Regions from separate parts of the Homo sapiens genome. Here regions 2, 3, 4, 5 and 6 are each linked to region 1. Evidence: promoter capture Hi-C in 16 types of primary human blood cells and fetal thymus (Javierre and others, 2016). All regions are on one chromosome and are shown on one strand. Each heading gives the region's core, a stretch centred on a gene start or on the middle of the fragment in contact. The rest is flanking DNA. Distances are from core to core; before and after follow the strand shown. Region 1 holds the start of IDH2 (isocitrate dehydrogenase (NADP(+)) 2). Region 2 overlaps WDR93 (WD repeat domain 93). Region 3 overlaps LOC124903550 (a long non-coding RNA gene). Region 4 overlaps ANPEP (alanyl aminopeptidase, membrane). Region 5 holds the start of ANPEP (alanyl aminopeptidase, membrane). Region 6 holds the start of LOC124903552 (a long non-coding RNA gene).

Region 1 (5,092 bases), core at 1,234-3,733:
GGTCAGGGCTGCCCTGCCCTCACCTTCTGTTTCACTGAATGTGTTTCCTCCCCTCTCACCCATCTGGTATGCATTGCCACACAGGGGCCAGTGAGTTCTTACCAGCAGCCTGCACCAGATGTACACGGGTGGCATCTCTCTCCAGCAATAGGCCCCATGCCCTGAAGAAGCTTACAACCTACAGTGTACTAATATTTGCAATCTGCTGGTATTTTTAACATGGGTTTACAGAGTATAAACCCCAGGGAAGGCCACAGACCCTGGCTTCCAGTAATCTGAGAGCAGTTTCCAGCACCTCATACCCTGAATGGAACCAGCCCAAGGGCCCTCAACTTCACACAGAAGATGTGGGAGCAGGCCTCAGCCATTCCAAAGAGGCTTTTCCTCAGTACCTACTAGGCCTAAACACAACCACCCCAATCAGCTCTGGCAGGGCAGCTAGGGCCTTATCTGACGTGGCAGAAAGATCTGCACACTTAAGGGGCAAGAATTAAGAAGTTTCTGGGTTAGGAGTGAAGGAAGGCTAGATAAGTAATTCTGCCACTGAGCCGTTCACAGAACTGGTCCGCACTGCCCCAAGCTCTAACTTACCAGAAACATCACCAGCAGTCGCTGGAAGCCTATGGCGTTGCAAAATAGGAAAAGATGCGTGCAGGAATTACCAGGCAGCAAAGACACGGGGCTCTTTTAGCCCCAAAATATTCTTTCCTTGTCATCAAGGGGAATGCCAAGTATTCTGTCTCCAGCTGCGTTGCCAGGTAACAAGCTGGCAGAGTCGCAACTGTAGAGTCTGATGTCCAACTCCAACACCAAGCAATTTCCCCATTCATAACCAACCCACATGGGGACTTCTAGAAGGGCCTGCAACTGACTGCTTTTTCTGTATCCAAATTCAGGACCCTTAAAAGGCGCTTTGTGTTCCTGTTTGTGTGTGTTTTTCGGGTTGTTTGTTTCTTTTTTTTTTTTTTACCATCAAGGCAGAAAAAAAGGGAGAATTAAAGAATGTGGCTAACTTCCACCATATTTTTGCTGAAGGTGGTGTGCTATATGGGAATCTTTGGGTCCTGGGGCACTTGGAACCTGGGAGTTGTTGGGCAGATCCCTGAGGTAGATTCCCAGAGGTACAAAAGCAGACATGCCCCTTTCTCCTTGGCAGGGAAGGTAGGACTGGGGCCCAAGCCTCCCTACCCCCCCGGCTCTAGTCAGCTGCTCCCACAATCCGGTTAACCATTACCTCCTCTGGCCAGGTCAGGGCCAGCGGGCCCCATCCCCTCTTCCTCACTCTCCTGGCTCACTGCAAGGGGCTCCTGGCCAGATTAGGATAGGGGTTTCCATGGCAACAGGCATTAGGCAGGGCCAAGGGACCTACATTGTTCCCTGCCTTTTGTAGCTGTGTTGGGTAGCCAGGGTGAGGGGGCAGGCCGATGCCCACACGCCAAGCAAGGCAGCCTGCGTTGGCAACGGAGGCTCGGGCTAAGTCTTGCTTATTACGACCCGACTACTGTCTTCCCTCCTAAGCAGGGAACTAAGGGTACCCAGAAGCCGTGGGAACGATTCCGCAAAGTGACATTTTGCGCGGGCTGCCAGGTCTCTGCGGCGAGTGAGCCAGGCAGGGAGGGCATGTGCCTGCCAAGGCAGGTCAAGTCAAGGAGAGGCCCCAGGATGGAGCCTCAAGTGCAGCGATGAAGGCGAAGGGGTGGGGGTGGGGGCGGCCAAACAAAAGGGGAAAATTAAAAAGGACGCTCCTCCAGCTGTCGTGTAAAAGGCTCCAAAAATAGCTGACGTGGGCCTGGTATCAGCGCGCGCCTGGCTGAAAAGGAAGGGGAAGTGCATGTCTCCCGCCTCCCAGCCTTTGTCTGAGCAGGGGCCGAGCCACGACCCTCCCTCTCGCCAGGGGAGCGCGCGGGGTGCTCCAGCCCCCCACGGGTGCTCGTCTCGTTCCAGGGGCGCAGGGCGGGCAGGCCACCCTTCGGGTCCGGGACACTCTCAGGACCCCCTCCCGAAATACCTAGGGGCGCGCGGCAGCCCCGAGCCCCCGCCCGCGCAGAGCTGGCCGTCGCCCGGGCCACCAGTTGCCACCGTCCCTCAAGTCCCCACCCCAGCGCCTGGCACGGCCGGGAAGCGCCGGGCGGGGGAGCGCGGAGCGAAGCTGCCCCGCGGCCCTTTGTGCGCCTGACCCCGCCGTCCCCGGGCTGCGGGCTGGCGGGACGTGCTTCCCGGCCCCAGCCTGGGAAGCCGCCACGTCGCAGCTGGGGGCGCGCGCCTGCCTGGACCCTCCGCGCGGCACTCACAGTGGCGCCGCGGCTGCTCTTGCGAGGTGGGGGCTGTCAGGGCCGCCGGCGCCCAGGCCGGCCGCGAGCCTGAGGCTCTGCAGAGCGAGCGCACGACCCGCAGGTAGCCGGCCATCCCAAGCTGGAGAGCGAACGAGCAGGGCGGGAGAGGTCCGAGCGCGCGCCGCTCCTCCCGGCTGCCTGGCCGCGGGCTAACGCTGGGCCTGGCGGGCGCTGGCCGCGCGGGCACCACCGGGGCGGGGCTGCCGGGCCTGCCGCCCCATTGGGCCTTGCCGGGGAGGAGGCGGGGCCAGGGCCGCCGACGCCTCCAGCGTCCCGCGGGAGCCGGGACCCGGCGGCCAGGCCCGGCTGGTGCTTCTCTGGGCGCCGCTGAAAGCCCAGCTCCGCAGGAGCTACAGGCGTGAGACCCACCGGGACCCGCGAGCGGGATCAGGGCTGGGGGATTAGCAGAGCCGCTTGCGAGGCTGACCCTCTCCAGGATGCCCCATGTAAACCTGGATGTCAGTTTCTGACGCTTTAGCTTAAACCCAAAAGCCAATCTGAGCGAACTCTTGCTTCCCTCGCCTGCCGGGCTGAACCCAAAGGCGCATTAGCCCAGTGCGGCTGCTTCATTCTTGAGCTAAGACCGCCGGCGGCGTCTGCGCCTCCGCGAGTCCGCTGTCAGGTCCAGCTGGTGTAGAGAGAGTTGAAATCTCACTTTGGGCCGGGCGCGGTGGCTCACGTCTGTAATCCTAGAACTTTTGGGAGGTCGAGGCAGGCGGATCACTTGAAGTCAGGAGTTCGAGACCAGGCTGGCTAACATAATGAAACCCCTGTCTCTACTAAAAATACAAAAATTGATCGGGCATGGTGGCGCGCGCCTGTAATCCCAGCTACTCAGGAGGCTGAGGCGGGAGAATCACTTGAACCTGAGAGGCAGAGATTGCAGTGAGCTGAGATCATGCCACTGCACTCCAGCCTGGGCAACAGAGTGAGACTCCGTCTCAAAAAAAAAAAAAAAAAACCACGAAAAAAGAAATATGATTGGACCAGAAGGCCAATAACCTGAGTGGGGAAACCCAGCAAGTCCTGTCCGTGTAGATTCTTCTTGACCTTTCTCTGCAGCATTCCTTCCTTCTGAGTACGGGGCAGGACTCTCTCTGGGATGGAGGGGTCTTAGGACCTGCAAGCAAACAAGGTAGGTCAGATAATTTATGGCCAGTTTTTACCCAGAAATGTGTGGGAGAAAGAGTAATATTTTTGGGTTCGATGTCTGGCTTTGGGGGAGAAGGGCTCTGGTTTCTATGACCTGCCTTGAGGAAGAAGGATTCCAGTTTCTATGGCTGGCCTCGGAGGAGAGTGAGGGGCCAAAGACAGGAGGGAGGGAGAGGGTCAGAGAGAGCTGCTCCTGAGGCCTGCATTTTGGGGTGTTGTTTTCTGAGACCCTAGAGTAGTCAAACAGCCACAGTAGAAACAGTTCCATTTTTGCCTGTTTGCATATAAAAGATGGGTTTGTTTGTTTGTTTTAATTAAAAATAGAGATGGGGGGATCTCACTATGTTGCCCAGGCTGGTCTCCAGCTCCTAAGCTTAAATGATCCTCCCGCCTCGGCCTCGCAAAGCACTGGGATTACAGGTGTGAGCCACTGCACCTGGCCACAAAAGACAGTTGTAATTGATTCTGCCACAAACAAAGTTTCTCTCTTCATCTGTTTTCTTAAACTAAGACACCAGCTGAGGGCTGGGTTTTATTTGGAAAAACCTGACCTCTTTCCCTTCTCTGCTTTCCCAGTCACGCTAATTCACTCCAAATAGGAGCAACCTTTCTCTTCTGTGTTCTCAGCCCTCCCCTCCACTACCTCACAGTCAACATTGCCAGGTGGAGCTGGACCAGGAAGGTGACCTTCAACTAGTGACTTCAAAGCTCCCCTCACCAAGTCCTAGCCGGCAGAACTACTACTCTGGCCATGGGATCCAGAAGGCTGAGCCCAAGGGAGGGCTGCTTTTGGGCCCCCCAGAGTCTGAGGCCTCTGTCAAAGGCCTGGTCTTGGGCCAGCTTGTGCCAGAAAGACCCCTTATCCCTTTGACTCTGTTCAGAATTCTGTTGCTCCAAACACAAGTAGAGACCATGGAAGCCTCTGGCATTTGACTTTCCTGCCAACCTGGTATTATCAGGTGCCTGGATCTCAATGTCCACACCTGTAAACTGGAAGACTGGACCCCTGAAGATCCTTCTGGTCCAAACAATCAGACTTACGTATGTCAGCCACCCATACTGCCACCTCTGAAATGGCGGTAATGAAATTGCTGTCCCCCTCCCCCCACCAAGGACTTGCCCCTTTCTCTGCATGTTGGACTCATATCTCAGAGGCCTGGCCAGAGGCAGCACTGTAGGTGTGTTCCAGAGTCTGGTCTTTGCCTGCTGAGGGATCAGAGGGGGAGCACTTGTGTGCCTTGTAAGCACAGCAGCAGCTGGAGGCAATTGAGGCAAAATCTTTAAACGGATTCTAACTACCTGCCTCCCAGGGCCCCAGCTCCACGCCAGCCTTTCCCGTAAATCCTGTTTGGTGAGGCAGCTGATGCCAGCTCCATTTGGCTCGTAGAGGTTACCACACTTGCTCAATGTCACACTGCTGGGAAGCAGTAAAACTCCAGTTCAAATCAACATACCTGGCCCATATTCCATTACTGTTTTTTTGTTTTTTCCGAGACAGGGTCTCACTCTGTTGCCCAGGCTGGAGTGCAATGGTATGATCATGGCTCCCTGAAGCCTCGACCTCCCGGGCTCAAGTGATCCTCCCACCTTAGCCTCCTCAGTAGCTT
Region 2 (5,092 bases), core at 1,892-4,391, 390 kb before region 1:
CAGGCGGATCACCTGAGGTCAGGAGTTCAAGACCAGCCTGGCCAACATGGTGAAACCCGTCTCTACTAAAAATACAACAATTAGCCAGACGTGGTGGTGGGCACCTGTAATCCCAGATACTGGGGAGGCTGAGACAGGAAAATCGCTTGAACCTGGGAGGCGGAGTTGCAGTGAGCCGAGATCGTGCCATTGCACTCCAGCCTGGGCAACAAAGAGCGAAACTCCATCTTAAAAAAAAAAAAAAAAAAAAAAAGTATCGTCTCCTGGAGGTAAGAGAATCAAAGAATTTTTGGACATGTGTTAAAACCACCACAGTAATTAATAAACACCTTGAGGGAGATACTTTGAGAGGATGCTGATGTGCTGTTTCTCTTTAATGTTTTACCCACCAATCTCAGCACTCATCATTGGATCTTGCCTGCTGCAGTTATCACTGGGACAATAGAACATATTTTATTCAAATGCTTGTTGCCTTGATTTTTAACCTTTAAATATTTAGATACATGGTATATTGGCCTCTATTTTATACTCTTGTCCAAGCCCCCTCCAATGTCAGGTATTTGAGGAACATATGCATTTTATTTTGTTTTTTTTTTGAGAAGGAGTCTTGCTCTGTCACCCAGGCTGGAGTGCAGTGGCATGATCTCGGCTCACTGTAACCTCTGCTTCCCAGGTTCAAGCGATTCTCCCACCTCAGCCTGCCAAGTAGCTGGGATTACAGGTACCTACAAGCATGCCCGGCTAATTTTTATATTTTTAGTAGAGACGGGGTTTCACCATGTTGGCCAGGCTGGTCTCGAACTCCTGAGCTCAGGTGATCCGCCCGCCTCGGCCTCTGAAAGTGCTAGGATTACAGGCATGAGCCACCACGCCTGGCGAAGGATATGCATTGTATAATGCTTTGTGTATTCAAGGAAACTTGTGCACCATCTGTATTGGTTTCCTGAGCCTGTCATAACAAAGTACCACAAACTGGGCAGCTTAAAACAATAGATATTTATTCCCTCAGAGTCCTAGAGGCCAGAAGTGTGAAATTAAGGTGACCAGAAGATTACTTTTTAAGAAAAAAATTTAGCCAGGATCCCATACCATGGGAGAACAACCTTTCCTAGGTTAACATATATTTGCTATAGAAGCTGAGCATGTTTCTTTGACAAGATAAAGTCCCACAGCCAACCCATGGGTTGTTATCTCCTCAAATATTGGTCAGAAGAATTCTTTAGGTACATCTTTCCCAATTCTAACCCTTCCTCAGACACACTTCTCTCAGTTGCTGATTCTGTATTTGCTGCCCTCCTCCCCAGACAGGTAAAACTGAAGGCAAAATGTCAGTGGATGTGATCACTTCAGCAGCACATATACTAAAACTGGAACGATACAGAGACGATTAGCATGGCCCCTCTGCAAGGATGACACACAAATTCATGAAGCATTTCTTTTTTTTTTTGAGATGGAGTTTCACTCTGTTGCCCAGGCTGGAGTGTAACGGCCTGATCTCGGCTCACTGCAACCTCCACCCACTGGGTTCAAGTGATTCTCCCACCTCAGCCTCCCGAGTAGCTGGGATTACAGGTGTACACATCACCATGCCCGGCTAATTTTTGTATTTTTAGTAGAAATGGGGTTTCACCATGTTGGCCAGGCTGAGAACTCCTGACTGCAGGTGTTCCACCCACCTCAGCCCCACAAAGTGCTGAGATTACAGGCGTGAGCCGCCATGCCCGGCCCCATATTTTTTTTAATGTCAATGGAATTTACCATTTGCAACAAAGAAAATGTGGGGGCTGGGCAGAACAATTTGGTTAAAAAGCTGTTGCATGAGTGCTGTTAGTGTGAGAAGCCCCTGTTTCTCTTAGATAGGTGGTGGTGGGTTGAGGGGATAACTCTCCATGGGAAAGTTATGTGGGGCATGAGGACTTGCAATAACCATTGCAGAACTACTTCTCCTTCAGTATGTCAAAGTTGCCTGGTATGGAGGTGGCTGGTCTCTTTGCCAGCAGTTCTAAGAAGAAGACAGGCCATTTCTCAGAGGAAACTTGTGGCTCTCTTACAGTTGCTCAATGGTTCTCTGGTTTCCCAATGCAGGAGCCGGAGATATTTGGCTGGATGTGTATAAATTGCCCAAGGAGACTTGGCTCAAGAAACTAGAGCACCCCCAACTCACTTCAAATCCAAAGAAAAAAGTCAGACAGCCGCAACTGGTAGGAAATATCTCTGCTTTCAGCTGATATGTTTCTCCCTACCCCTGACCCACATCTAGCCCAAGTCCTTGGAAACTTATGGTGAATGAGGCCTCTGGGCTATAAGAGAGGACAACAGGAATATTGGCCCCTGTCTCCCAAGTCAATTTCCTTTGGTTAAAATAAGATATTAAAAAGTAGAGGTGTCTTCAGTAGTGGGAATCGCAGTATCTCTAGTCTGGGAGTTGCCTCTCCACTGAGACCACTCCCAGGCATTTCTCTGGAAGGAGGGTCTTTTGTCCTGACTCCTGCTTCACTGGTAATCTTTTTTTCCCTCCTGGCTGAAATAATCTTTTCATGCCTCAAATTCCATTAAATTTTTCCAGACTATGGTATAAAGAGGTTGTTCTCAATATACAGAAATATATATATATTTTCTATTATCCTTAGAAAGTAGAAACTCTACCATTTCAGTTTATTTATATATGATGACTGGGCCTTGTGCTGTTTTTTTGTTTTTGTTTTTGTTTTTTGAGTCTCGCTCTGTTGCCCAGGCTGGAATGCAGTGGTGCGATCTCTGCTCACTGCAACCTCTGCCTCCCGGGTTCAAGCAATTCTCTTGCCTCAGCCTCCTGAGTAGCTGGGACTACAGGTGCACGCTGCCATGCCAGGCTAATTTTTTTGTATTTTTAGTAGAGACGGGGTTTCACTGTGTTAGCCAGGATGGTCTCAATCTCCTGACCTCGTGATGTGCCCGCCTCGGCCTCCCAAAGTGCTGGGATTACAGGCATGAGCCATCGCACCCGGCCTGTGCTATGTTTTTAAGATATAGTTGCTCAGTAAATATTAAGACTTAATTTGCTTATTTATACAGTGTATGCTTATTATTTTTACTTTTAAACCACCAACATTAATATATTAATATTAACTGAGCATCCCTTTAAAATACATTGTATTAGGTGCTAAATAAATTAGTGAAATTATTAATATAGGAGACCAAGATTGAGAGTTACATTCACTGCTGAGCTCAAGTGGCTTTGAATAAATGCCTTTATGGCCAGTGAATATCTTCATAATGGAGTGTAGTCCTATGTCCCTGGGAAAGTTACTAGCCCAGAGATATTCCTCCTCTAAGCTATTACAGAATGTTATTATTTGTATGTATTTTTTGACACTTCTCACATACTGCCTAGGTTTGTAGTTATCCTGTTATACATGAAAATCCTCTTGTCTTCAATGGATAATAAATTTCTAGATTGTTAAGATCATACCTTCTGCTTTTTATCAACAAATTCCATAGTATCATACTTGGTACTCAAAAAGATATATTTTTGTTTGGACTAATTTGTTATCCAAATAGGAAAAGCACCTTGAATGGGGTGGTTTCTCACCATAATTCACTTCTTTTTCATACACTGAGAAGCAGCCAATGAATGCCAGTTACAGTGGTAGTTCTTTTACTACGAATTATATTTAGAGTTACTTAAATGTAATTCTCAACATCACCAATATGTTTTGCCAATCAGAAATATTTGCCTCAATTTGGATTCTTGTAATGGTGTTCTGACTGATCTCCTCAACTCTATTCATTCAGATTTCCTCTTGTTATTAACTATTTCCTGTTTCCCCACCTACCTTTTAAGATCCTGAAAAATAGGGATCGTGTGTTGAAGTTCTGCAGGCCAGAGGCCCACACAAATACTGGCCCTCCACATCTGTTGCATGAATTCACTCACAAGAGTAATTGAGGGGAAGAGAGAGCATGCCAGAAGATTAAAGGGGGTGGTAAACATACATCAAACCTATTGTGAATTAATTTCTCATTTTTCTTCTCAGAACTCCCTTGGTCCCATTTCTGCAGATCCTTTAGAAATGGTAAGAAACTTTAAAGAAAATCTCCAGAGAGACTTAAGTTTGTATTTTAGAGATTTTTTAAAAATTATTATTTTTCTTTTCTTTTCTTTTTCTTTCTTTTTTTTTTTTTTTTTTTTTTGAGACAGAGTTTCATTCTTGTTGCTCTTGTTGCTCAGGCTGGAGTGCAATGGAGCGATCTTGGCTCATCGCAACTTCTGCCCCCCAGGTTCAAGTGATTCTCCTGCCTCAGCCTCCTGAGTAACTAGGATTATAGGCATGCACTACCACGCCCGGCTAATATTGTATTTTTAGTAGAGACAGGGTTTTCTCCATGTTGGTCAGGCTGGTCTTCAACTCCCGACCTCAGGTGATCTGCCTGCCTTGGCCTCCCAAAGTGCTGGGATTATAGGCGTGAGTCACCACACTGGGCCCAAGATTTTGATTTTTACTTGAAATTTACCCTAAATGTCAAATATGCTAATGAAATGTTCCACCTGGGCACTATTTTCAATTCTCAGTGACTTAATCTTGTGCCTCATATCCATTGAAGATGACCTCCCGTCCCTGAGGACAGTTGACCCAAGTCATTTGGCCAGACGTGGGTTTACCTGAAGTTAAGGGAGCTTAAATTTCAGGGCCCCTCACTTGGGCCCCTGGAAGGGGCCCTAGCAATGTGTTCATATGGTTATATATTTTTGTAAAATTAGCAAAGGTAACATATTGTAACCATAATCACTTAATTCCACTACCTCTTCACTCTAGCTTTCCTCTGTCACAATTTCCTCCATATTAGATGGAATTACAGTGGCCATGGGCATTTTGTGTTCATAGTTCTGTCTTCTTTTTCTTAAAAGAGGGTCCTATGAATCCTGGATTTGCCTCTACCAAAATAACAGCCCAATTCACCAAGCCGAGTAACTTGGGGGTTTTGTGTTTGTTTTGGAATACCTTAGAGAACAGAGCAGTTTCCCTGGAGCTTCCTGGCTCTTCCTCTGAGACCAGGAACATACCATGTCTTCAGAAAGCATGGCTCTTGGAGGACTCAGGCGTGTCAGTAG
Region 3 (5,092 bases), core at 1,531-4,030, 330 kb before region 1:
AGGGTCTAGGCTCCAGGCTAGCTCAAACCAAGGTAGAAGGAGACCAGGCAATCTCCGAGAGGAAAGGATGTATGTACCATGTGCAGGGCTCTGTGCCTGTGGTGGAATCCCATTATATACCAAATCCCTCCACAAGAAATCCCTCAGGCTGGCTCTAAGGAGGTTGGGGGGAAATAATTCTGGATATTCAGAAGCTTCCTGGAGATCACAAGACCATCCACCACTGTATTCCTAGCTGTTTATGCACAAAGCAGCACTGCTGGGCAAAAACTAAAAATACAATAAAGGTGCATCAGTAAGTGGCTGTGCATGCCATGGACTACCATATAGCAGTTAAAAGGCATGAGTCATGCCTGTAATCCCAGCACTTTGGGAGGCCAAGGCAGGCAGATTGCATGAGGTCAGGAGTTCGAGTCCAGCCTGGCCAACATGGTGAAACCCTGTCTCTACTAAAAATACAAAAATTAGCCGGGCACGGTGGCACATGCCTGTAGTCCCAGCTACTTGGAAGGCTGAGGCACAAGAATCGCTTGAACCTGGGAGGCGGAGGTTATAGTGAGCTGAGATCACACCACTGTACTCCAGCCTGGACAAAACAGAGAGAGTGTCTCAAAAAATAAAAAAATAAACAAAAATAAAGGTGTGAGTCAGAAACATCAATAGAAGCCAGGCGTGGTGGCTCACACCTGTAAACCTAGCACTTTGGGAGGCCGAGGCAGGTGGATCACCTGAGGTCAGGAGTTCAAAACCAGCCTGGCCAACATGGTGAAACCCTGTCTCTACTAAAAATACAAAAAATTAGCCAGGTGTGGTGGCAGGCATCTGTAATCCCACGTATTTGGGAAGCTGAGGCAGGAGAAATCGCTTGAACCTAGGAGGCGGAGGTTGCAGTGCGCTGAGATCATGCCATTGCACTCCAGCCTGGGCAACAAGAGCGAAACTTCATCTCAAAAAAAATAAATAAATAATAAAGAAACACCAATAGAAACAGCACCTGCTCTATCTGAAATGCAGCACCTAGATCAAGACATATCTATGAAGCCTGATGAATTTTGTTTATAACTGTTGAATGGATACATGCAAGTTCCCTGATAGACAGTATGTCAAGAGCTTTATAGTGTTGTGTGGCCTCGGACCAATAAATGATGTACCTACACTACATGTGCCATTATTTCAACCCAAAAAGTCTAGGGGTGAATGTTTTACAAGTTGTCCCTTATTTCCCCTTAGGAAATAGTTGTTTTTTGTTGTTGTTTTTTTTAAATTTTGGTTTAAACCCTTTTAAGCCATGAAATGTTCCATAACTAACTGCTTCTCTCCAAAGAAAGCCTGTTTGAAATCTATCCCACCTTCTTTTCATGTTATGGACCAATTAAAATTTTCTCTTCTTTATTCATAGCAGCTAGAATAAACTAAACGATAGTTGTTTGCCCAGAGTTATTCAACACCAAGTGTTACTTCATCATAACGTTAGAGCAGTGACTTGGGCATATTTTCTCCGATATATTTCAAAATAAATTCTGAGGAGAAAAAGTGACATAATTTCATTATTGAAGGTGTATCCGTACCTTCTGCCATTTTACCTTTTTTCCAAAGTTAAAATTATTTACATGGGCTGCGTACAGTGACTCATACCTGTAATCCCAGCACTTTGGGAGGCCGAGGCGAATGGATTGCTTGAGCCCAGCAGTATGAGACCTGCCTAGGCAACATGGTGAAACTCTGTCTCTACAAAAAGTACAAATTTTAGCCGGAGTGATGGTGCACATCTGTAGTCCCAGCTACTCCGGAGGCTGAGGTGGGAAGATTACCTGAGCCCGGGAGGTGGTGGCTGCAGTGAGCGGTGACTGCCCCACTGCACTCCAGCCTGGGTGACAGAGTGAAACCCTGTCTAAAGAAAAAAATTATTTAAAGAGATAAACATTTAAAACATTTAGATCAACTATAACCAAGGTTTTGGTTAAATCTGTATTCGCAGGCAGTACTTTTTTTTTTTTTTTTTTTTTGAGACAGGGTGTTGCTCTGTGGCCAGACTGGAGCACAGTGGTACGATCATAGCTCACTGCAACCTCAAACTCCTGGGTTCAGGGGATCCTCCTGCCTCAGCCTCCCAAGTAGCTGGGACTACAGGGCCCACCCCACCATGCCTGGCTAATTTTTTTTTTTCTTAGATGCGGGGTCTGACTATGTTGCCCAGGCTGGTCTTGAACTCCTGGGCTCAAGCCAACCTCTCACCTCAGCCTTCCAAAGTGCTGGGATTATCCCCACTAAAAATTTGATCCATTATTTTTTTAAAGGGTGAGTCAGCAAAATATGTCCTGACATGGAATGCTCTGAAACATGCTGTTGAATGAAAAAAAAAAAAAAGAAAAAGAAAAAGAAAAGAAGAAAAACAAATTACAAGCTGACATTTACACATAACAATGTACATAATGTAACTGGAGGGTTACTGTGTGTTTGCTAAGGATACACGTTTATGTTAACCCACTGGCCAGGTCTGGAACTACACACACAGCCTAATAACAGCTGTTACCTTTTGGGGGTTTATGGGGTTGGTTAAAGAGACTCCAACTTTATCTGTAATGTTTCCATTTCTCACAGTGAAAGGTAGTAGTTACATAATTTGTGTAATTAAAAGTTAATTTTTGAAAATAGCCACGCCCTCCCTCAAAAAAAAAGAAAGAAACAAAAAAAAAGATTAGCCAGTCATAGTGGTATGCGCCTGTAGTCCCAGCTACTTGAGAGGCTGAGGCAGGAGGATCACTTGAACACAGTTTTAGGGTACAGTGAGCCAAGATTGCATCACTGCACTCCAGCCTGGGCAACAGAGTGAGACCCTGTCTCTAAAATTAAAATAAATGAAGCCTGGGCACAGTGGCTCACGCCTGTAATAACAGCATTTTGGGAGGCTGAGGCAGGCGATCACTTGAGGCCAGGAGTTCGAGACCAGCCTAGCCAACATGGCGAAACCCCATCTCTACTAAAAATACAAAAATTAGCCAGGCATGGTGGCGTGCACCTGTGGTCCCAGCTACTCAGGAGGCTGAAGCAGGAGGATTCCTTGAGCCTGGGAGGCGGAGGTTGCAGTGAGCTGTCACTGCACTCCAACCTGGGCGACAGACCCTGTCTCAAAAATAAAACAAATAATAAAATAAAATAAAATAAAATAAAATCAGCCACAAAAATATTACAAGGCAGCTGGGCCTGGTGGCTCATGCCTGTAATCCCAGCACTTTGGGAGGCTGAGGAGGGCAAATCACTTGAGCCCAGGAGTTCAAGACCAGCCTGGGTAAAACCCAACTCCACAAAAAATGATAATAATGATTAAATAATTACGAAGCCATTTGCTACTTCAGGCTGCTGCAGGTTAATCTCTTCTTGAACACCATTGTCATGTTGATCTTTAGTTAGTTATTAGCTAATGATTTTTAAAATTGTATCACCCTTCCGCTCAAAAGTCCCTATGGCTCCCAAAACCAACTCCTTAACCTGGCCCCAGCCCAGGTGTGCTCTGGCCTTCCACATCACCACCCCAGTGCCCTGCTCCTAAGGCATCTTGGAAGGTCCCAAGGCCAGGTCTTTGCTTATGCAGTTCCCATCCGGAAAGCACGGCACCTGCCTCTCTCCCTACTCAAATCCTACGCATGGTTCAAGGCCCAGCTATGACTTCTTCACCTCTGTGGCCAGAACCCTAATGTCCCTGGTCTTCTTTTGACTCTTAGCCTCAGGACTCAGCCCTTTCCCCAAGACCACACAGGACATTGACAATCTCCTTTAAACTGTAATTGTTGCTGAGAATATCATTTACTTTATAAATTTTACTATCTCAACTATCCCTTACACAATCCCATGTAGATACTATCATTATTCCTGTTTTACTGAGCAGAAGCTCAAGCTCAAACAGGTTAAGGGCTCTGCCTAAGGGCATACAGCTACTGTCATACAATGGCCTGTTCACTTTTCTTTCCCACAAGACTGAAATCTCATTAGAGCAGAGACCATGACTAGCTCATTCACCCTGTGTGCTCGACATTTACTGGTTGCTAAATATGAATTCGGCCAGGCGCAGTGGCTGACGCCTATAATCCCAGCACTTTGGGAGGCCAAGGCGGGTGGATCACTGGAGGTCAGGAGTTTAAGACCAGCCTGGCTAACATGGCAAAAACCAGTCTCTACTAAAAATACAACAATTAGCCAGACGTGATGGTGCATACCTGTAGTCCCACCTACTTGAGAGGCTGAGGCAGAAGAATCACTTGAACCCAGGAGGCAGAGGTTGCGGTGAGCTGAGATGGTGCCACTGCACTCCAGCCTGGACGATAGACCAAGTCTGTTTCAAAAACAAAAAAAAGAGAATAAATAAATAAATATGAATTAAATGAATAAAGTCCATTAGTGCCTTGAAATCTAAGTACTTTCCTTTTATTTTATTTATTTATTTATTTATTTACTTATTTATTTATTTTTGAGACGGAGTCTCGCACTCGCCCAGGCTGGAGTGCAGTGGCACGATCTCAGCTCACTGCAACCTCCGCCTCCCGGGTTCAAGCGATTCTCCTGCCTCAGCCTCCCGAGTAGCTGGGATTACAGGTGCCTGCCACCACACTCGGCTGGTTTTTGTATTTTTAGTAGAGACAGGGTTTCAGCATGTTGGCCAGGCTGGTCTCGAACTTATGACCTCAGGTGATCCATCCACCTCGGCCTCCCAAAGTGCTGGGATTACAGGCATCAGCCACCATGCCTGGCCAGTACCTTCTTTATAAAACGATCATGGCAAACCTTCAGCTCACTTGCCAGGGCCTAAGTGCTTTACAGGGATCGCTGTACTTAGTCCAGGAACCATCCTAGGCATAGGTATTTTGTATCACTATTGGTACCGATGAGGGAATCTGAGGCTCAGAGGAGCTAAATAACTTAACCAAGGTCACAGCCAATAAAGAGGCCGGCTTGGGGACCCATTTTCGCCGGTTTTCATCACCTAGGGTACCCAACTCCTCTTCCCCAACCTAATCTATTCCATTTCTCAAGAGTAGATACAGACCATGGGCAGTGAGATGCCTTTCTTGGTGTGTCACTCAACAAATCAGAAACT
Region 4 (5,092 bases), core at 2,400-4,899, 310 kb before region 1:
AAAGATACACAAATGTGTATAAGGCCAATAAGCACATGAAATATTCAACATCATGTCATTCATTACTCATTAGGGAGATATAACTGAAAACCATAATGATACCACTTCCTACCCACTAGATGACTATACTAAAAAAAGAGGGAAAGAGAGATAAGTGTAGACATGGAGCAATTAGAACCCTCATGTGATACACTGCTAATAGGAATGGACAATGGTACAGTTGCTTTGGAAAACATTTTGTCAGTTTCTCAAAAAGTTAAACACAGAGTAACCAAATGACCCAGCAATTCCGCTCCTAGGTGTATACCCAAGATAAATTAAAACATGTTTGTACAAAATTTGCACGTGAAGGTCCATGATATTCATCACAGCCAGAAGACTGAAACAACCCAAATGCCCATCAATGATGAGCTGAAAACAAAATGTGGTACATCCATGTAATGGACCATTATTCAGCCATAAAAAAGAATGATCCCTGCTACCGTATGCATGAATCTTGAAAACATTACACTAAGTGAAAGAAGGCAGACAGACACAAAAAGGCTGTGTGTATATGATTCCATTTTATGAAACATCCAGAATAGGTAATAAATCCATAGAGACAGAAAGTATATTAGTGGTTGCCAGGGGCTGAGGGGACCAGGTAGGAATAAGGAGTGACTGCTAATGAGTACAAGGTTTTTTTTTGGCGTAATAAAAATGTTCTGGAATTAGACAGTAGTGATGGTTGTACCACATGGTTTTTTTCTGTTTGTTTGTTTGGTTTGGTTTGGTTTTGGTTTTTTGAGACAGGGTCTTGCTCTGTCACCCAGGCTGGAATGCGGTGGCACCACCTCCGCTCACTGCAACCTCTGCCTTCCTGGTTCAAGCGATCCTCTCACCTCAGTCTCCTGAGTAGCTAGGACTACAGGTATGCACCACCATGCCCAGCTTATTTATTTATTTATTTATTTATTTATTTATTTATTTAGAGATGAGATCTTATGATATTGCCCAGGCTGGTCTCAAACTCCTGGGTTCAAGGGATCCTCCTGCGTTGGCCTCCCAAAGTGCTGGGATTACAGGCATGAAGCACCCCACCCACCCTACCTTGTTAGTTTACTGAAAACCACTTAAAATGGTGAGTTTGATGGTCCATGAATTATATATCAATTTTTTTTTTTTGAGACAGAGTCTCACTCTGTCGCCCAAGCTGGAGTGCAGTGGCACAATCTTGGTTCACTGCAACCTCCGCCTCCTGGATTCAGGCAATTATTCTGCCACAGCCTCCCGAGTAGCTGGGACTACAGGCACCCCCCACCACACCCAGCTAATTTTTGTATTTTTAGTAGAGACAGGGTTTCACCATGTTGGCCACGCTGGTCTGGAACTCCCGACCTCAGGTGATCCACCCACCTTAGCCTCCTAAAGTGCTGGGACTACAGGTGTGAGCCACCACGCCCAGCAAATTATATCTCAATTTTTAAAAAAGACAAACTAACTTAATCCAAGTTGACTTTGTCAAGCTTCTAATTCAAGCATATATATCAATTGTAAAAAGACCTTTTATAAACAACTTAGAAAATTTGAATATGCCTTGGGTATATGATAGTAAGAAGATAATCATTTTCCTGGGTTTGCTAAGGACAGTGTGATTATGTTTTAAGAATCCCTTTATTGCTGGGCGCAGTGGCTCACACCTGTAATCTCAGCACTTTGGGAGACCGAGGTGGGTGGATCACTTGAGGTCAGGAGTTCGAGACCAGCCTGGCCAACATGGTGAAACCTCGTCTCTACTAAAAATACAAAAATTAGCCGGGTGTGGGGGCGCATGCCTGTAATCCCAGCTACTCGGGAAGCTGAGGCAGGAGAATTGATTGAACCCCAGAGGCAGAGGTTGCAGTGAGCCGAGATCATACCACTGCACCACTCCAGCCTGCATGACAGAGCGAGACTCAGTCTCAAAAAAAAAAAAAAGCTGGACGCCGTGGCTCACGCCTGTAATCCCAGCACTTTGGGAGGCCGAGGCAGGCAGATCATGAGGTCAGGAGATCGAGACCATGGTGAAACCCCATCTCTACTAAAAATACAAAAAAATTAGCCAGGCGCGGTGGCGGGCACTTGTAGTCCCAGCTACTCAGGAAGCTGAGGCAGGAGAATGACGTGAACCCGGGAGGCGGAGCTTGCAGTGAGCCCAGATCGCACCACTGCACTCCAGCCTGGGTGACAGAGCAAGACTCCATCTCAAAAAAAAAATAAAAAATAAAAAAAATAAAAGAATGCGTTTATTTTTCATATGACTAAATTATTTAGAGGTAAAATTACATGATCAGTGATTTGCTTAAAAATTGCCCGCCCGGAAAAAGTACTGGCAAAATGTTGATAATTGTTGAACCTGGGTAACGGGTACATGGAGGTTCATTATACCACTCTTCCCTTTTGTGCCTATACAAAAATCCCAAGATGAATTTTTTAAATTGAATTATCAACATTTCCAAAGTCTGGCTACTCGGCTTCCTCTGTAAATGAGGAAGGCCTGGCGGCGTGGAGCCTGTGCTCCCTCAGGGCCACGTGGGAGAAGAATGGAGTGCCCCTTTGGCCTGGGAAGGAAGTAGGCAGAGCCCAGGTCTGGGGAATGACTTCTTACCTGCTGCAGCTCATACTCGGTGGAGAATCGTCGTGTCACTGCCTGGATGAGGTTGGAGAAGGAGAACGAGCCACCACCATAACTGCAGGGAGGGAGAGAGGTGAACTGTGAGGGAGGCCGGGAACTAAGGAGGCTCATCCTCACACCTACTGGGTAGGGAGCCATGATTATAGAGGAGATGAAATGACACGCCCTGGGAGACCCCACTAGGATGTGGGGGAGTCACAGCTTGAACACAGGTCTGACTGCCGAGTTCCTCACTCCCCTCTCTTCTGGAGAATACGCCCACACGCCACGTTTTCCTTCCAAATGGGAAAAGGGACGGCCCATACCCCAGCTTGTCTTTCCATTCCTGCCCCACCCTAGCCCCCAGGCTTGGCTGATTTTTGTCCACTTCTGGTTAGTGCCCCCGGCGTGTCTTACCCGCACAGGCCACCCCCCGGGGCCCCAGCCTCGGCGCTCGCTGTCCCTGACACCCATTCCACAGACTCACTCGTTAAAAAGCTTCTTCCAGTTGCTCTGGACAAAGTCCCAGACCAGACCTTGCCCAATGACGTTGTTGGTAATGCTGATGATGGTAGAGGTGGCGTCCTGCTTCCGGATTAAGTCCGGGTTCAGGGTGTAGCTCAGGTACCTAAGAGGGCCAGATGCTGTCTCAGCTACTGCTAATTCAGGTGACTCAGGAGAGAACTTGGACTGTCCCACGCACATCACCTATGCCTGCATCCTCTCAACATCCCCTCGGCCTGCCAGGGGCTGAGGGACCCCTTGGTCCTTCTTCCCTCTATAGATGGAAAACTGAGTCACCTAAGCAGGGTCACAGGGTCACTGGCTAAGCTAGTGTCATGCCTGACATAGAAATATTTGACAATGAATCAATGAAGGAAGGAGTCCTAGCGCCCCAAGCCCTGGCACCAGGTGGGTGGTCACTCCCGTCTTTGACACTGAGGGTGGCCCTTCTTTTCTTTTCTTTTCTTTTCTCTTTTCTTTTCTTTCGAGACGGAGTCTCACTCTGTCGCCCAGGCTGGAGTGCAGTGGAGCGATTTGGGCTTACTGTAACCTTCGCCTGCCAGGTTCAAGTGATTCTCCTGCCTCAGCCTCCCGGGTAGCTGGGATTACAGGCATGTGCCACCATGCCTATTTTTTTTTTTTTTTTGTATTTTTAGTATTTTTAGTAGAGACGGGGTTTCTCCATGTTGGCCAGGCTGGTCTCGAACTCCTGACCTCAGGTGATCCATCCACCTCAGTCTTCCAAAGTGCTGGGATTACAGGTATGAGCCACCACACCCTGCCCAAGGGTGGCTCTTCTTTACTGCATCCAGGTAATGGCATATGAGGCACATGGTGGGAGGTGGGGACCCTCATCCAAGGGCTTGAGGGGGTGCCCAGCTGGATGTTTGAAAAGACCCAGGTCCAGCTACACCAGAGCCTTTGACAGAAGGGAAGACGAGTTGTTGTCAGGTAAAGGCTAAGAGGCCACAGCAGCTAGGAACAGAGGACATGGACCCAGACCTGAGTCCATATCTTGTCTCTATCACTTATTAAAGCTTCCAGTCTGCACCGGTTACTTTGGAAATACTGCCTCCACCTCAACAGGTCTGTGGGGGTCACGTGAAGGATCTGGCGAGGAGTGTGGAGGCCTGCCTGGTTCTCCAGGTGGGGAGAGGGCTCTCGCAGTCCCACCCTGCGCCAAGACTCACCTGTTCAGGATCCACAACTCTTTGCTGCAGGCCAGGGCTGCCCGGAGCTTGTCAGCCTCATTGACCAGTGTGGCATTTCGGAACTGCTCCCAGGCGAAGTCCCACTCCTCCTCCCCGCCCTGGGCGATAGCGTTGCAGTAGACGGTGGACCGCAGGTTGGGGTGGATCCTGGTGTGGGGTAGGGAGGTCAGGTGTGGAACAGCAGCGGGGAGGGTGGGACAGGGTTCTGCTGAGGACGGGGCTGTTGGGGGCAGATGAAGACTGGCAGAGGAGGCGCAGGGGAGACACTCACGGGTTATTATTGGGGTTCTCCATCCACTGCTTGAAAAGGCCAGAGACCATCTCCTCACACTCTGGAACTCCGTTGGAGCAGGCGGTGCTGATGGCATTAACCTCGCTGTACCTGCCCCAGGGGTGACACGCGGTTAGCACACCTGGCGAACTCCAGCCAAGATTCACCTCTTGACACACAACCCCAGGCCGGCACCCTGCCTAAGGCTCTGTGGCCTAACTGGCCCTCTGACCCCCGCTGTATGTGCTTTGTGCCTTGGGCCTGAGGTTCCTTGGTCCCCAAAGCAGCCCTGTGACCCAGAAGGGCAGGAACAGGCTCCAGCCCCAGTTTCAACACCTAGAAACTGTATAACCTCAAGCCAGTGGGGTGAGCTAGAGTTTCAGTTTGGGTCTTTGTATAAAGAGGTCCGATGGGCCCTCAGGCCACATGGAGCCTCAGGGCAGGACCTCCCTGCTCCTGGGTGGGGGTCTCTCC
Region 5 (5,092 bases), core at 1,134-3,633, 290 kb before region 1:
TTGCCCCTCCTGCAAGAACCTCAGAAGGCCCCAATGGGAAGTTGCCTCTCATCAGCCTCTTCAGCCCAATGCAGGGCACACAGGAGGAAGGAGCAGAGGCATTTGTGGGTGGGGGAAGTACACATAGGGTTTGTGTGGGGCCACAGATCCTGCCTGGCAACTCCTGTCTGCCAAATGGGGGGTGATTATCCTGGTGAGACACATGGTAGGTGAAACTGAGCACCTACTATGTGCCCTACCAGGATAATCACCCCCATTTGGCAAATGAGGACACTGAGGCACAGAAAGGTTAAGTGATTTGCCCAAGGCCACACAGCTAGTTAGCAGCAGGTTCCACAGCTTAACTACATATGCCTCCTAAAAATGTCCTCCCATACAGCCCCTCACATCTACTGTGGCCGTGCCAAGGGGAGTTGAAGACCACAGGAGAAGACACGCACCCATTTGGCCAGACCAGGGCTGGGAGCTGGGGGTAGTTCTCAGAAGTAGAACTTGTTAGCCAGGGAGTGCTGGGGGCTGCTTCCAGACACAGGCCTGTGGAGGACCCACATCTTGCCTCCAAGGTGTGACTGGGACCACTGTAGGGCCAGGAGTGACAGGCACCCGGGGTGAAGCCCGGGCTAGGGATAGATGGCTGCCAGCCTATGTGAATAAGGACACCCCAGGGCCTCGGTGTGCGGCTGACACACTGTCCATGCCATGCCTCCAGGGCTGTCCAGGAGCCCCAGCATAGGGTTCCAGATCTCCCACCAGAGCCAGCCCAGGAACTGGACCCAGTTCCAACACCTTGGCTCCTTCCGACATGGGGACCCCCATCTATGTCCTCAGAATGCCTAGCATACAATTCTTACAGCGATGGGGCTGGAGGCCTTAGCTTAAAGGCTGTAGGGGTGTAAGGAGCGCCAGCGTGTAACGAAGGTCTCATTCCCCAGAAGGCTCTGGGGGAAGCACAGGGCAGGCGGCTGGGCTGCCTCAAGACACTGGGCCGGTTTCCCCACCTGTGAAGCGGGAGCAGCGCTGTGGGTGGCCTCCTTGCACTCATAGTGTGGCCTTCGAGGCTAGGGCTCCACAGGAAGGTGGCTGAGAGTGGATGAGGGCCTCATGGGCCCAGCACACCCTCCCACAGGGAGAGGGGAGTCCACCCTCTTCCCTGCCCAGCTCCCCCATACCCACTGGGGCTAGCCAGCCTTCCTGTGGGACAGAGGCTGTCCCCACTTCCTCCTGGTCACCCCTACCCCACACGCCCACCTCCCCTCCACAAAACACATACCCTGAGGGGCCCTCTGGTCCAAGCCTCCCCTTTCACAGGTGAATTAACTGAGGCCCAGTAAGGCCAGGGCGTTTAGAGACTCAGGGATGAAGCCACATCAGACCTCAGGTCTGGCTGAGACCAGGGCTCTGACCACCCCCGAACACGGCCTGGTGGGTTGCAGTCCAGGGGCTGAGGTGGGGGAGGAGTGGGGATCCAGTCACAAAACCCCAGGACATAGCCCACCTGGGCCGTCCCTGCCCACCGCACTGCTGGGGGGGGGGGGTGCGTTCTGGAGTCATTTGGGGAAAGGATCCCATTGGCCCTGTTTAGGGGACCTTTTCCCAGACCAAGAGTGGATTGCAATGGGGCCCTGGATCTGTCTCAGTTGCTCACCAGGGAGGGCGTGGAATAGGCTCCACAACCCCCAAACCTCGGTCCCCATCCATGCCCCGGCATCTTGGCCGGGTTGTAGGAGCGAGGGAGAACGCGACTGTAACGCGGGCGTTGAGCACCTAGAGTTCCCCTTCCTCTTCACTGAGAGCTGCGGCGGAGGCTTTAGACCGAGGAGCGAGATCTAAGGTTAAAGAAAGGGCCTCTGAGCCCAGTGTTGGCCAGAGACCCCACAGGCGGGCCGGGTTCGCCCTTTGCCTTCGGCCGCGCCCCACCCACCAGGGACAGAGTGGCCGCGGCCGAGCCGGGTCCACCCGCCGCAGCTTAGCTCCGCTCCGCCGCCCTCCCCGTCCGTCCTCCCCAGGCTCCCGTCGCCCTCGCCCACCCTGGGGCCCCCTCCCCAGATGGGAGCCCCTCCGACCCCTGCGAGGCCCGCTGGGGACCCACTTGACCGCGAGATCGTAGTGGGAGCTCGGCCAAAAGAATTCTTCGCTTTCCCTGGCCCTCAGTTTACCCATCTGGGAAGAGGGGCGTCGCGGCCGCAGAAGTCCAGCTCCGCACGCGCCAAGCGCTGGGTCTGCAGCTCCCTCGGTTCCCGCGCACCCAACTGCCCCACGACCCCTACCCGCGCCCGCAGCCCCCGCCCTCCCGCCCCACTTGCCTGGGCCGCCGGGCGCTGGAACCTGGACCCTGGACCCTGGCGGGTTCCGAGCTGCGCCGCCGCCGTCCCTGCCCCTCCAGCACTGGACTCCTCCTTTCCCGTCTTTTTAAAGGGAAGTAACCGGACCCGACCACTACTCCACCCGATTCACCCCTAGCGGGCCGCCCGCCCGCAGCTCCGCCCGGGCTCCTCCCCCGTCCGCCCGCGGCTTCCCGGGAGCCCCCCAGGGCTCCTCCGCTCCTCCGACGGCCCGGCCTTCCCCCCGGGGCCTGGGATGCACCAGGGCTCCTGCTGCCCCCGACGGGGTCCCTGTCGCCGCAGCCCGCGGGACCCGCCGGCCACATCTGGACGGCATCTGCCGCGGGGGAGGGGCTCAGAGCCTCGCCCTGAGTGTCCCGCAGGGAGCCTTGTGCATCCGGGGCAGGAAGCCAGCGCATCCCGTGCAGACGGGTGGTGCAGATAACGGACCCGCCACAGCACGCAATTCAACTTTCTTGGTACCTGGGACTCGTAGTTCAGAAGGCGCAGTAGCACGACCTTGCGAAAAAGCACCGGAGTCGGGAACACGCGCTTCTCATTTTTTTCTTTTTCCTTTATTTGTTTTTGAGACAGAGTCTCGCTCTGTCGCTCACGCTGGAGTGCAGTGGCACTTTCTCCGCTCACTGCAACTTCCTCCTCCTGGGTTCAAGCGATTCTCCTGCCTCAGCCTCCCGAGTAGCTGGGACTACAGGTGCACGCCACCACGCCTGGTTAATTTTTGGAGTTTTAGTAGAGACAGGGTTTCACCATGTAAGGCTCGTCTCGAACTCCTGACCTCAAGTGATCCGCCCGCCTTGGCCTCCCAAAGTGCTGAGATTACAGGAGTGAGCCACCACACCTGGCCTGCGCCTCTCATCTTGATCCTGCTTGCAGAGGTTGTGCAGCCACCGGAGCCCCGCCAGGGTGGGGCTCCCTGTCTCTGAGCAGCTTTAATGGGCGGTACCAGATAATATTTGTATTGGTTCCCTGTGGCTGCCGTAACACAAACATAAAACAACACTAATTTACTATCTTACAAGTTTTGTAAAATCAGAAGTCCAAAATGGGTCTCGCTGGACTAAAAGCAAGGGGGTTGAGGGATACAGCTTTCTTGAGGCTGGAAGGGAACCTGTTTCTTTGGCTTTTCTGGCTTCTAGAAGCTGCCCACATTCCTTGGCTGGTGGCCCCATCCATCTTCAAAGCCAGCAGTGGCCCACCAGTCTCTCACAATCTGTCACTCTGACACCAACTGTTCTGCCTCTTGCTTCCACTGGTGAGCATCTTTGTGATTACATCGGGCCTACCCAGATAATCCAGGGTAATCTTTCTATTTTAAATCAATGGATTGGCAACTTGAATTCCACCTGCAACTGTAATTTCCCTTCGTGGGGTAGCATAACATATTCACAGATTCTGGGCATTAGAACCAGGGCATCTTTTGAGGAGGAGGATATGATTATGTCTACCACAATATTCAAGCTGACTTCCAGACTTTCAGATTTATAATCAAATTTAAGCTCTTCCTTATCCATGATTGGAATCCTTGGGACAGTTAAAGCCTTGCACTGCATGGTCCAAATTGATGGCTTTGTGACTGGCTGTGTTTTATTATTTTACTTGCACTTGCTCTTCTTTTGGAAACTTCATGGAGGACCAGGGTACCTCTAGGTAGCAGCCTTGCTTCTCCTTCCTAATTTGCTCTGTACTCTTAAAAACCAGGTCACAAACATATCGGAATATAGAATTGTGTGTAAAGTAAGAGTAAGTAGGCTGTGAGTGAGACCTCAGAGGCTATTTTGTTTTTTTTCTCTCTCCAGTCTCATGCATGTCTGACTCTCTCCACTATCATATCTGGCATAATCTCCTCCATGTCTGACAAGCCAAGGAAAACACTACATCAGGCCAGGAGAGAATCTTCCCCCCGGAGCTCTGCCTCTCCCACCCAGGCTCCGCGGAGATTTTAAGAGGAGTAAAGATCCTGCTGTGGCAGAAGTGCAACCCAGCTTTCTGGAGGGCAGTTTGGGGTTAGGAATGAAGATCACTTTCAGAAATTTAGCCTGAAGAGGCTGGGCGTGGTGGCTCATGCCTGTAAGGCAGGTGGATCACTTGAGGTCGGGAATTCAAGGCCAGCCTGGGCAACCTGGTGAAACTGTGTCTGTACTAAAACACAAAAATCAGCCAGGTGTGGTGGCGCATGCCTGTGGTCCCACCTACTTGGGAGGCTGAGGCACGAGAATCGCTTGAACCTGGGAGGCAGAGGCTTCAGTGAGCTGAGATCACATGACTGCACTCCAGCCTCGACTACAGAGCAAGACTGTCTCAAAAAAATAAATAAATTTAGCCTAAGGAAATAGAATATTTATATGCAAGGCTTTTCACTGCAGTATTACTTATAATACTGGAAAATCAGAAATAGCCTAAGTGGGCTGGGCGTGGTGGCTCATGCTTGTAATCCCAGCACTTTGGGAGGCCAAGGCAGGCAGATTACGAGGTCAGGAGTTCGAGACCAGCCTGGCCAATGCAGTGAAACCCTGTCTCTACTAAAAATACAAAAATTGGGTGGGCATGGTGGTGGGTGCCTGTAATCCCAGCTACTGGGGAGGTTGAGGCAGGAGAATCGCTTGAACCCGGGAGGTGGAGGTTGCAGTGAGCCGAGATTGCGCCACTACACTCCAGCCTGGGTAACAGAGAGAGACTCTGTCCACCCCCTGTGAAAAAAAAGATGAAGAGACAGTGCTTGCTCCTGCAGAAAGAAAATTCATGGGCTCATA
Region 6 (5,092 bases), core at 1,389-3,888, 260 kb before region 1:
ATACAAAAATTGGCCAGGAGTGGTGGCGGGCCCCTGTAGTCCCAGCTACTAGGGAGGCTGAGGCAGGAAAATCGCTTGAACTCAGAAGGCGGAGGTTGCGGTGAGCTGAGATCACGCCACTGCACTCCAACCTGGGCAACAGAGTGAGACTCTGTCTCAAACAAACAAACAAACAAAATAACAGGTGAAGGATGCCTAGAAAAATTCCAAACTGAGCACACACAACTGAAGTTTTAACTTTCCCCCCTTATTCCTCAAAAGTAGCCAACAAAACAATCTTGAGGTTAGATGGGGTTTGGCACAGGGATCCAAAGCCTGCAGTCCTACTAGACTACCAGCTCCTCAGAGGCGGAGTGTGGCCTATACAGTTTCACAGCCCCAGCCTCTCACAGTACCTGGCACATGGTGGGTACCCAATAAATGCTGAAATAATCTAAGGTGATTTGTCAGGGGCACTTTTCTGGTTACAAAACAAAACAAAACCCTTTCCTCAAGAGACCAAAGACTCTTATTGAAACGTGCAAAGTCACCGGGAAGTTCTTAAAAGGAAAAGGACAGTCACAGCTCTAGGGCAACTGCTTGCCAACTAATAATGTGAGATGAAAAGAGCTGGCTTTGGAAGTGTCATGTGGCAACAAGCTGGGAGAAGGTGGGGGGTATCACAGATAAAGAAGAGCTGGTGACAAAACGCAAAGAGTATGCACATCTACAGTGAACCCCCACCTGGCAGGCTCACCCCCACGTGGAGGGAACGGCAAAAGTGGATGAAAACTCTCTCACAATCATTTTTCCCCTATTGCCTTCTTTCCGGATACCAACTCTGCTTCTGCCCTCACCCAGCAAGTCTCCATTTCTTCTCATTTCCAACCCCCTTGCCTCTGACTCACTTACTATTCCTGGAATCTTCCCAGCCTACATTTCTAAAAGAACTATAGCTGCCACCAATAGCTGTGGTCTGGAAAAGCTTCTTCCACAGGACTGCCAGTCCTCACAGAAAGAAGAATTCCTGGTTTCGCAAGATCAAGTTCCGTATACAAGGCAAAGAAGCTCTTTAAGACACTCAGATAATTAAAGAGGTAATTTGTTCTGCTATTTCTGCATGTGAAAGTATACGTCTGTAACCTCTGTGCTCTGGGAAGGCTGAGGAAGGGGACGGCGAGACCTCAGAGGGATAGGACAGAATTTATGTGAACATCTCTATCAAGCCCAGCACCATGTGGGGGTGGACTGGGGTATGTTATTTTCAAGCCTAGCCCAAACTCTACTGTAGTTTTTTATAAAGCTAACTGGAAATAAGGAAATTGGCAACTCTGAGGTCTGAAAGACACCACGAGAAATGGCTGCTGGGAGATCAGACTCTTAGAGCACACAAACTAGGAAACCACACTGGACTAGGGAAGAGGGTTCTGGGTCCCTCCAGGGAACGAGTGGCTTTCAAAGGAGGAATTACAAACCACAAACATGGGCCATAACCCCCAAGCCAGAAGCTGTTTGCCTTCCTCTGCCATCTGGCTTTTCTATTTGCTCTTCTACCCTGAAAATCTGAGATTTCAAACTTGTTACCTGTTTAATTTTCAGGGCTGGCTGACCTTCAAATCCATGAGTTTCAATGGACTCAAGGAAGAAAGAAGATGAGTATCATTTCCCGAGGTTTCACAGCAACACAAACCAACACATGTACACACTCCTGCCTCTGCCCAGGTTTTCTCTACCCAGCCAGGGCTAGAGCACAGCTGCTTACTCACCTCGGATTTCTCCAGCCTGTTTTGAGCCTCAATCTGAGCCACGATTTCATTCATGTTTGTTTCCAACACCATCCCACCCATCACCACCTCCTGGAGGATGTAGTGCACCTAAAAGGGAAGCAAAAATCAGGAGTCAGAATACTCTGTGGTGGTCAGAGTGTAACCCACGAGGTTTCCTTTTCCTGCAGCAGCAGAGTGGTCAGATATGACCTGTCCTGACTCACAACTCAGACACTCAAACCCCCCTGCCCAGTGACACAACGAGGGGTCTCTCCCAGGTCTTGGCACATGGCAACACGAATCTCTCCCCTCAGCAGCGAGGTGGTAGCTATGAGCACAGGCTTCAAAGTCTGACAGCTCTTGTTTAAATTCTGGCTCTGCTACTTGCTAGCTGGGTGGCCCTGGGCAAATGACCTTTAAAGTGCTTCAGCCTCCTTCCAGGATTGCAGTGAGGACTGGATGAGATAAATGTGTGTAAAGCACCTAGCCTGGTGCCCAGGACACACTGGGTTCTAAGTAAGGAATGGTGGCTTTCATTATTAATATTACCATCATCAACACTGACTGTCATTAAGTAGGTCCAGCTATGACAGAATAATCCCTGTCCAAGCAACTGAAATGAATGTCTTCCACCTTCTATAAGGCAGATCCTCCAGCCTGTGCTCCACTGAAGGGACGTGATCAGAGCAAGATAGAGCCCAATTCCTTTGCACCTCTCCTCACCTCATTTCTTACTGCTTAGATTAGAAAGCAGATTCAGCATAAACACCTTTCTAAGCATAAGGGTCACATTTGGGCTTAGGTTCCATCTAGCTAGCAGTCATCTAAACAAAGCTGAATCTCAGTGTACCTAACTGCTGTGATGGGACGGAGGTGACTCAACTACTGTACCCCTTTGTGGTAGGAAAGCTGTCACAGAAAGCCCTGGGTGGGTCAAAGCAGAGATGCCCACTGTGGTTCATAAGGAATGGTACTCCATATTTCAAACCAAATCACATCAAATGGCCCTCAAGGTGCTTTCGGTCAAGTTGGGAAGACAGCAAGTACAACCTTCTATTGTTAACTAAGTGCCAAATGACTGGGATAGTCCTGGGGAAGTCAGAGAAGAAAGGGTACAGTGGCTAGAGAGATCAGAGAGCTTCACAGAGACAGTGGGAGGATGGAAGCTGGGCTCTGACATTAGAGAGGTAGGGGAAAGAATTTCAGGTAGAAGATGTTGGAAGGAGCAATTCAGCTGGTGTATGGGCAGGTATGGGGAGCTCCTGGGTCTGGCTGGGATGGCAACTTTCTTTATGCAGGAGAGAGGCTAAGACAAGGCTGAGAAGGTAATTTGGGTCTGGAGCAGGGCTTCTCAGCCTAGGTACTAGTGACATCTGGGACCAGATAATCCTCTGCTGTGGGGCTGTCCTGTCACTGTGGCCTGTTCTCTAGCATCCCTGGTCTCTACTCCTCCAGCTTGACAATCAAAAATGTCTCCAGAATTGTCATATGTGTTCCAGGGGGCAAATTCACCCCAGCTGAGAACCACTGGTCCAGAGTCTAGAGTCAACCACCAGTTTACTCTGTCAGCAATGCAGAGTCAAGAAGAAAGATGTGTCTGCATATCTGGGCACTGTGCACTTCTGACATCTGAAGTTCTCTGGCATTGGCTCCCTGTATTTTGCCCTCAGTAAGTGCAGGGAACTTCTGATCTTGAGGACAGAGTATAATAAATCAAATGTATTCCCTTGCGTGTGTGCCCACATTGAGCTTTATTAACCACTGTTCTGTCTACACACACGCACACACACACTCTCACGAGGTGTTCTTACATTTTATACAATATGAATTATTCATTAGCTATATGCAAATGAAGATTTAATGGTAAAAGTCTCATATTTAGATAATTTACAAAATGTTAAACAAGACTGGTTTTAAAATTATTCCCTGGGGGAATTCCACTGTTTATACTTCCCCATCAAGAAATAGGCCTCTGAAAACAGTATGGTGGTTCCTCAAAAAGATTAAAAACAGAATTACCATATGGCCCAGCAATTCCACTTTTGGATATACACTCAAAAGAACTGAAAGTAAAGACTTGAAGAGAATGTGTACACCCATGTTCATAGCAGTATTATTCACAACAGCCAAAAGGTGGAAGCAGCCCAAGTGTCCATGAACAGACGACTGGATCAACAAAATGTGCCATAGAAATACAACAGAATATTATTCAGCCTTAAAAAGGAAAAGAATTCTTTTTTTTTTTTTCATCTGAATTGAGATGCTGTAAAAGGGAAGGGAATTCTGAGACACAATGTAACACGGATGAACCTTGAAGATACTATAAGTGAAACAACCCACACACAAAAGGATGAGGACTGTGTGATTCCACTCCTGTGAGGTACCCAGAGTAGTCAAATTCAGAGACAGAAACTGGAACGGGGGCTGCCATGAGGCAGGGGGAAGAGGACAGTGGTGGCTATTGTTTAATGTGTACAGAGGTGCTGTTTTGCAAGATGAAGAGCTCTGGAGACGGATGGTGGTGGCGACTGCACAACAATGTGGATATACTTAATGCCACAGAACTGTAAGCTTAAAAATGGTGAAGACAGGAAACTATATGTTACATATTTTACCACAATTTAACAAAAAAGGAGAGAAATAGTCCTCTATACCTGCACTTTCAGTATTTATTCCTTTTATTTAGCCAATCCCTGTGTGGGTAGAAAGTAGTACTTGTTGAGTATCTATTATGAACCAAGTACTTTATGTAACTTACCTTAATTTTACAACATTCATCTAAGGTAGGTAATATAATCTTCACTTTATTATTATTATTACTATTATTATTTGAGGCTGAGTCTCACTCTGTCACCCAGGCTGGAGTACAGTGGTGTGAACTTGGCTCACTGCAACCTCCGCCTCCTGGGTTCAAGCGATTCTCCCAACTCAGCCTCCTGAGTAGCTGGGATTACAGGCACCCGCCACCATGCCCAGCTAATTTTTATATTTTTAGTAGAGTCGGGGTTTCCTCATGTTGGCCAGGCTGGTCTGGAACTCCTGACCTCAGATGATCCCCCTGCCTTGGCCTCCCAAAGTGCTGAGATTACAGGCGTGAGCCACCACGCCTGGCCTGACTTCACTTTATATATGAAGAAATTGATACATTTTATATATGAGGAAAAGGCAATAAAATGATCCCAATGTCATGTATATTAGCAGCAGAATGGTGCTGATTCCGGAGCTCATGTTCTACCCTTTATATCATACTTCCTCAGAATCCCAAACTATGTCTTCCACTCTATTCATCCCTGACCCCTAGTCCACATGAAATCATTTAAGACTTGTCTTTGGTGTGTCAATATCTT

Evidence for each region. The method cuts DNA at HindIII sites, captures the fragments that hold promoters and counts their contacts. A CHiCAGO score of 5 or more calls a contact.
Region 2: a fragment that was not itself captured here is called in contact with the fragment with the promoter of IDH2 in region 1 in 1 of 17 cell types (monocytes); the score reaches 5.2 in monocytes.
Region 3: a contact is called between a fragment that was not itself captured here and the fragment with the promoter of IDH2 in region 1, in 2 of 17 cell types (M0 macrophages and neutrophils). The highest score is 6.8, in M0 macrophages.
Region 4: a fragment that was not itself captured here is called in contact with the fragment with the promoter of IDH2 in region 1 in 1 of 17 cell types (neutrophils); the score reaches 8.5 in neutrophils.
Region 5: the fragment with the promoter of ANPEP here is called in contact with the fragment with the promoter of IDH2 in region 1 in 2 of 17 cell types (neutrophils and M0 macrophages); the score reaches 5.9 in neutrophils.
Region 6: a fragment that was not itself captured here is called in contact with the fragment with the promoter of IDH2 in region 1 in 1 of 17 cell types (monocytes); the score reaches 6.3 in monocytes.

The regions. Positions count from the first base shown.
Region 1 is chr15:90,099,985-90,105,076 of GRCh38, forward strand. It overlaps IDH2 (isocitrate dehydrogenase (NADP(+)) 2), which reads right to left and starts at 2,484. Exons shown (of 11, transcript NM_002168.4): 1 at 2,292-2,484. The coding sequence starts at 2,406. IDH2-DT (IDH2 divergent transcript) reads left to right here and starts at 2,148. Exons shown (of 3, transcript NR_149130.1): 1 at 2,148-2,394; 2 at 3,396-3,468. RefSeq lists enhancers at 910-1,765, 1,766-2,620 and silencers at 1,155-1,204, 1,265-1,354, 1,845-1,914, 2,235-2,694. The HindIII fragment of the contact is 3,688 bases long and covers 169-3,856 here.
Region 2 is chr15:89,712,895-89,717,986 of GRCh38, forward strand. WDR93 (WD repeat domain 93) reads left to right here. Exons shown (of 17, transcript NM_020212.2): 6 at 2,086-2,201; 7 at 4,017-4,055. It also overlaps the pseudogene RNU6-132P. Among named protein-coding and RNA genes, the nearest start is that of WDR93, 25 kb to the left of the region's middle. The HindIII fragment of the contact is 6,791 bases long and covers 1-5,092 here.
Region 3 is chr15:89,770,722-89,775,813 of GRCh38, forward strand. It overlaps LOC124903550 (a long non-coding RNA gene), which reads right to left. Exons shown (of 2, transcript XR_007064751.1): 2 at 1,373-4,330. Among named protein-coding and RNA genes, the nearest start is that of MESP2, 3.1 kb to the right of the region's middle. The HindIII fragment of the contact is 5,176 bases long and covers 193-5,092 here.
Region 4 is chr15:89,787,834-89,792,925 of GRCh38, forward strand. It overlaps ANPEP (alanyl aminopeptidase, membrane), which reads right to left. Exons shown (of 21, transcript NM_001150.3): 17 at 4,619-4,729; 18 at 4,327-4,494; 19 at 3,120-3,260; 20 at 2,627-2,708. Among named protein-coding and RNA genes, the nearest start is that of MESP2, 14 kb to the left of the region's middle. RefSeq lists an enhancer at 4,454-4,954. The HindIII fragment of the contact is 1,043 bases long and covers 3,129-4,171 here.
Region 5 is chr15:89,812,469-89,817,560 of GRCh38, forward strand. It overlaps ANPEP (alanyl aminopeptidase, membrane), which reads right to left and starts at 2,384. Exons shown (of 21, transcript NM_001150.3): 1 at 2,304-2,384. RefSeq lists an enhancer at 1,953-2,452, promoters at 2,320-3,474, 2,320-2,808 and cis regulatory regions at 2,423-2,428, 2,680-2,808, 2,716-2,719, 2,718-2,747, 2,765-2,767. The HindIII fragment of the contact is 11,363 bases long and covers 1-5,092 here.
Region 6 is chr15:89,835,870-89,840,961 of GRCh38, forward strand. It overlaps ARPIN-AP3S2 (ARPIN-AP3S2 readthrough), which reads right to left. Exons shown (of 10, transcript NM_001199058.2): 9 at 1,746-1,853. AP3S2 (adaptor related protein complex 3 subunit sigma 2) reads right to left here. Exons shown (of 6, transcript NM_005829.5): 5 at 1,746-1,853. LOC124903552 (a long non-coding RNA gene) reads left to right here and starts at 40. Exons shown (of 2, transcript XR_007064754.1): 1 at 40-1,076; 2 at 1,579-3,475. RefSeq lists an enhancer at 976-2,175. The HindIII fragment of the contact is 3,352 bases long and covers 963-4,314 here.